2 separate regions of the Homo sapiens genome follow, and region 1 is linked to region 2. The links are contacts of gene promoters, found by promoter capture Hi-C in blood cells and fetal thymus (Javierre and others, 2016). All regions are on one chromosome and are shown on one strand. The core of a region is centred on a gene start or on the middle of the fragment in contact, and the rest is flanking DNA. Distances in the headings are between cores, read along the strand shown.

Region 1 (3,155 bases), core at 644-3,143, 5.0 Mb before region 2:
GTGGTCAGCATTTGCTTCTGTGCCGAATCTCTGACTTGCTGCGTCCTGGTTTAACCTGCTCTTCCGGAGTCCGCTTTCCCTCGCTTTGCTGGCTGACCCCATTCACTGTACGCCCGCCATTCCTAGCCCACTGCAGTCGATACTGCCTCTTATTTACTTGTTGCTTTTTCTCTGAGGCCACTTCCTAGGCCTGCTTCAGGTACCATTTCCCGCCTCTTCTCTCCATTCACTCAGTACTGAGCCAGACAGGTCTCAGCCCTCGTGGGACTGAAAATGACAAAAATGTGCCAACGTATCTACTCCTGTTAGGTTCTGACCACTGTTTCCTCCTAGTTCTTTATCTGTACCTTTCTTCTGGCAATATCCTTTACTGTTATATACATGGTTATTAACTTACAGACCATCAGCTCTTCAGGTTACGGTTCTTGTCATCCCACTCTTGATTCTGCAAAGCACCTAGCAGAGTGCTTTGCATAAGGCACATTCTTGAGAAAATGTCCAGTGAGTTGAAATGGTGATTGGTGCCCATTTTATTGCCAGCACTACTCGTTAATACCCGAAGGTTAACAGGCTAGAACTTGCATACCGTGGCAGAGTCACATCTTGGGATTTTTCCCTTCCTGGCTTCTGCTCTCTGTTGATGTTATGTTCTTAGATTGCTTATTGCAGTCAAAGAACCCTGCTGGCTGTTACCCCTCCCTTGCAACTCTTCCTGACCCTAATTGTCTTACTTTCATGTTTTTTTTTAAATGCCAGATTTTGTGCATTTCTCCCAATATCCCAGGGTGCCCAATTTTATCTCTCCTCCCTCCCCAAAAACTGTACAGCCAAAAAGACTTTAAACACTTTTTAAAATTTAATTTTATTAGCCGGGTGTGGTGGCTCCTGCCTGTAATCCCAGCACTTTGGGAGGCTGAGGTGGGTGGATTACCTGACGACAGGAGTTCGAGACCAGCCAGGCCAATATGGTGAAACCCCATCTCTACTAAAAATACAAAAAAATTAGCCGAGCGTGGTGGCGGGTGCCTGTAATCCCAGCTACTCGGGAGGTTGAGGCAGGAGAATTGCTTGAACCCGGGAGGTTCAAATTAAAGCTTTTAGTTTTTATTTTTAATAGAATCCAGCTAATGCAGGACAAAAAGTCTTGAACCAGATTTTCTTTTCACTCCCTTTTTAATAGGAGAAGGGAACTCCATAACCAAGGCTTAGACCCTCTTGAGGAGAGAGGAACTTGAGGAAACCATAAAATCTTACCTTTTTCAGACTCATTAACTTAAAATGGTTTGAAATAGCTTCTGGAGGAAAAACATGATATAGTGAAGCTTCTACTCTGTCTTTTGGGAATTTATGGTTGTCCTTATAAATCTCTTCTTAGTAACAGGCAAAACTTGTTAATTTAGAGAATTAAAACATCCTCTCTCAAAAGTGAACTACATTGGCTTTTGAAGAACTGTGAGAATGGCCAGGAGTAGTATTTTGCCAGTATGCTGCCTTTGCTAACTAGCATCATTTAAGAGGACCTAAAATAAGAATACTTTATTAAACATACGCTATAATCCATACTTACTAACCATAGCGCAAATTAATGTTAACATACCCTATAATCCATACTTACTAACCATAGCACGTGTTAATGGAATGGGGCCCGACTTTTGGAGTAGCATTTGTATAAACCCTAAAGGGTTCAACTGAGGCTAGTTTTCAAGTTTATTGCTGCTTTAATGAATCATTAACCTCATACTCATTGGCCTAGCCATGAAAGTAAATACTGCAGACTTTTTTTACTTTGCTAGCAAAAAGTTTCATATATAATAGGTTAGAATAGCAATTGAAATGCAAAGTAATAAGTGTATTCCCTTGTAGAATCATCCTGGGCCTCATCTTGAAACTACATGTCCAGTGAAAAATATCCTGTCTGGTTATATTATCTGGTCAATGAGAGTTTATTACATGAGGTAGAGAAAAATGTCTGCTCATAGGTCCAAATAGGAGTTTTGAATTCTAATTTTCACTGAAAAGTCCTTGCAATTTTACAACATTGAAAATAGAGACATTTTGCTCTTTTATGAGATGTCTGGCCTTTACCTGTTTTTCTCACTAAGAGCTGACTTAAGTTGGAAGTGCTGCTAGCCAGGGAGCAAAATCACCTGGTGATTGCTAAGGCGACATATAATTCATTGAGTGAGAAGGGAAGCTGGGCTCTCTCTGCCTTCTCTTTCAGCAGCCTGCCAGGTTTGTGCTAACAGCAGTGGATGCTAGTTGCTCCAGTTGTAATTGTCTAGCCAATGATGATTATCTTCTGATGTCGGCTGACACGGTGCCCACCAATAGGAAAGCAGGAGGCCTGTGCTGACTGCTGTAACATTATGTATGTGAGGTGACGTCTTCAAAGGGCTTGCCTAGAACTTCATGAAACCCTCCCCCTCTCCTGGCATTCTCCACACATCCAGCCTTTCAAAGCTTTATATATTTTTCTGACTTTTCTCCCCACTCACTCCCTTGGTGGTGTAAAAGGGTTTACTTGTTTTAACATTTTGTATTCTGTATTATAGAGTCTATAAGATAGTATAGGAATTTTAAGAATTAAATGCTGTTCAGCTGAGGAAGCCTTTTTATTCACAAATTTGTTTTTACCAAAGGTAAAAATGGAGTGAAACATTTTATTTTATTTTGTTTTATTTTTGAGACAGGGTCTCACTCTGTTGCCCAGGCTGGAGTGCAGTGGCACAATCTTGGCTCACTGCAACCTCTGCCTCCGGGTTCCAGTGATTCTTATGTCTCAACCTCCCAAGCAGCTGGGATTACAGGTGCCTGCCATGACACCAAGCTAATTTTTGTATTTTTAGTAGAGATGGGAATTCACCGTGTTGGTCAGGTTGGTCTTGAACTCCTGACCTCAAGTAATCCGCCCACCTCGGCCTCCGAAAGTGCTGAGATAACAGGCTTGAGCCACTGCAACCGGCCGTGAAACATTTTAAAAGGAGTTGTACATCTATATCTTTTTTGTAGGTGAAGTTTGGAAAGTAACACGATGTACAATTTCATGATTAAAGAACATAAAAAGCACTAAAAACCTGTGTTAGCATTTAACTCAAATATAGCAGCATAAAAAATATAGCAGCATAATGTTAATGAAACTGTTCAAATGCAGACAT
Region 2 (3,167 bases), core at 384-2,883:
ATGGATCATTTGTTGATGAATATCTTTGAATTTGGGTTTCCCATTATAATCCCTGACTGAAGGGGAAAAAGCACAATGTGTGATTTGAGATATTAAATTCATGAATGTATTCCACTCCCTAGACACGTAAATATATAAATATTTCACTAAATTTTATGCACTAAATTTTACCGCTGGAAAATAAGCCTTTTCTCAATTCTTAAACATTAGATGAAGAAGGGAGAACTCCCTCAATGTAATTAAAAGTATATCATGAGGGGAATAACCAGCAAATAACACTTATATTTCATTTTCGGCCTTTCCAGGAGTCTATCCAGGCCACACTTCATTATGTCATAGGTAGAAAACTCTCCATACAAACCCTATTAGCTTAATAAAACTAGACAAGCAGTCCCAGTGAAAAGATTCAGCAAGATGCGAGTGAGGTGTGTGTGTGTGTGTGTGTGTGTATGTGTATGAGAGAGAGAGAAGAAAGAGTAGAGAGGAGACACAGAGAGAAAGGCAGAGAGATGAAAGACCAAAGAGAGAAGCCAAAGAGAAATTTGGATGGGACTGTTATAAATCTGCTCTTCACTTCTTTGCTGGGATTGGGTTTCATTTCTTTAGGCGCCCCTGACCTTGCAGTCTTGCAACTCCAACGCTGCGCTCCCCACCCCCTCCCGCCCCCTCCCCGGGCCTGCGCCTGCCTTTGTGTCTGCCTGTCACTTACCAAGGAACCAAACGAAGCTGATTCGGGAGAAGCACAAAGCCGGGACACAGATTTGTCCATAAATTCTCTTACATACATTCCCCAGGCTGGAAGGCTCAGCCCAGCGCTGACTTATGTACCTTGAGAAAAGTGAGTTCTGGTCTTGTTTGGGGAACCAGAGAAACTATTCTTTCCTCTTTCACTCAGCGCCGCTAACAAAACGCGCGGACTTAAGGAAAAAAAAAACCCACTCAGTGTACTCCAATTCCACTCCCTGTGACATTCACTTCGTACAGCCCCCTAAAGGGGGATAAGAAGGTAGGAGGAGGCAGACACAAACCCAGACCCAGACCCTACAGCTGATAAAAGGGTCGAAAAACACCCTATCAGTGTTCTCTCTGAGGTTGTTCAGGATAAACGGGAGACTCGTTTCACTTACACGAAAGAAACAGGGGAAGAGGATTAAAGGGAAAAGTAGTGCCCCCAAAGCTGAACTATTTTAGAAAGGAAAGCAAATTTAAAAATCACTTTTCTGAGGATTAAAAAAGGCCGGGAAACCGGCTCGTCGGAGGCACAAAGGTAAGTTTTCTGGGAGATGAGGGGACGAGCATTAGGAGGAGAGAAGAGAACACAGAACTACAGGTTTAAAAGGGGTAGAGGGAATTAAAACTATATTTGTCAGCCATGTTGAAGAGGCTCCAGTAATTTGTGAAGCTTCCCTCTTCCCTCTTGGTATTTGTGGGTGACACTACAGGGTTTGCTCCCCAGTCCCTGGAAGCCCGAGAAAAAGCGAAGGGGAGAAGAAAGGGAGAGTTTCGCGGCATAAGAGAAGCGCTCTGACCTCGTTCTCGTCCCTCAGCCTTGCAGCAATCCAGCAGTTGCAGTCGGGTCTCCTTTCTAACAAATCCTAAAGGGCAGCCATCTTGCTTCCTTCTGCTTCTCTACGAAAGCAGCCTAGCCTCCGCATCAATATTCATAAGGCAGTTTGACGTCTGTTCTCATCACTCAGCGGGGCCGGCGTCTCGGGGCGGCCGCGCCGAGGGGGCGGACGTGACTTGCATGCGAGCGGGACCCGGGCGCGCGGCGCTCGCGAGGAGGCGGCGGCGGCCGCCCAAGCTCTCGCCGCTGCCACTGCCGCTACCGCCGGCTCTCCTCCTCCGCCCGGGCCTCCTCCTGCTCCGCCCCGGCCTCCTCCCGCTCCGCCCCGGCCTGCGCCGCCGCCCTGGGGCCCTCAGCCCCGGCTCCCAGGGAATTAGCCCCCCGCACCGGGCGTCCAGCACAAAGGCCGGCGGCACCTGGGGCCGTACAGCGGGGCGCGCAGTGGAGACCTGGGCTGCCCTCACGCCGTGCAGTGGCGCGGGGGGAGTGGTGCGCCCGGACCAGCGCGGAGTAGGGGCCAGGGCTGGCGAGCGCGGGGAAGGGTGCAGCCCTCGGGAACCCCGGGGACCTCGGCGGGTCTCCACCCCTGGGAGAAGAAGCAGAGCAAGCGCGAAGGTTGGGGGCGAGGTGGGAGGTTGGGATGGCACGGGTGCCTGGACAAAGACGTGACATCTAAGATTTCCCTTTGAAACTTTTTGCTGGTCTGCACTCCACCACCACTTCGAGGTCCCGCGCACACGCCCCCGCGCGCACCCACCTCCTCCGGAGTGTACCCGCACGTGCCCTCGCTCTGGCCCCCGCCTCCACCCACTGGCACCTCTCCCCGCACCACACCTCCGCTTGCGCCCACCTTACCCTCAGAGGCCCGCGTCTCTATCTCCCTTTAGATCCCGTTGCCCGCGCTCTCCTTTCCCTTTTCTGTCGCTTTAATCTCATTCAGCAGAAGCGCTCCCCTGTTTCACCGAGGGCATGCCCTTAGTGCTTTAGGGGCCTGTATTTTTAAAGACCCGACAAACTGGGAAATTGACCGAGTTCTGTTTCTCCCCGCCCCGGCCCACCTTCTGTTTACTTTAGCCACGTGGGCTGAGTAGAAGGGGGCGTCTCACAGATTGAAATAGGTTTCTCACTAGTGACCCCCTACTTCTCGCTAGGAGGAAATAAACCTGCACTTTCAAATGCTTAAGTTGCCTCTCGTAAGAGCCCTTACTTTGAAGTAGTTTCCCCCCGTACAATTAAGTAATGAAGAAACCGACCGATACAGAGCTAATTCCGAATGACGGATGCTTGATTTTCCCTGACATTCGGAGCTCTGTAACTATGCTCTTCCTTTGACCGGAGTTTTTCTCTATTGCCGAGTAGTGTTACTTCCCCCTTCTAATGCTCCTTTTTCTAATCATCAACTTTTTATTTGAAGATGAGATGAAGAACAAAGCCCATATGAGTCATAGTAAGTATCATATTACGTCAGATAGTCGTTTTTGAAATATTCCCTTCATCTTTTACATGTTCTTACATGACTGACGTTCAAATTTTAAGTGGGTATTTTGGTCACATCTTTTATGGGATCACTGCATGGTGATCACAGTACCCTTAAGTCAAT

What was found. Contacts are between HindIII fragments. The CHiCAGO score rates a contact against its expected background, and 5 or more counts as called.
Region 1: a contact is called between a fragment that was not itself captured here and the fragment with the promoter of TET2 in region 2, in 1 of 17 cell types (fetal thymus). The highest score is 10.4, in fetal thymus.

Annotation. Positions count from the first base shown.
Region 1 is chr4:110,193,132-110,196,286 of GRCh38, reverse strand. All of the region lies in intron 1 of ELOVL6 (ELOVL fatty acid elongase 6), which reads left to right. Among named protein-coding and RNA genes, the nearest start is that of ELOVL6, 3.9 kb to the left of the region's middle. The HindIII fragment of the contact is 1,138 bases long and covers 1,325-2,462 here.
Region 2 is chr4:105,145,342-105,148,508 of GRCh38, reverse strand. It overlaps TET2 (tet methylcytosine dioxygenase 2), which reads right to left and starts at 1,633. Exons shown (of 11, transcript NM_001127208.3): 1 at 1,530-1,633. LOC124900868 reads left to right here. Exons shown (of 3, transcript XM_047416559.1): 2 at 1,548-3,014. The coding sequence ends at 2,236. RefSeq lists silencers at 659-728, 1,692-2,371 and enhancers at 1,059-1,108, 1,452-1,621. The HindIII fragment of the contact is 4,110 bases long and covers 1,405-3,167 here.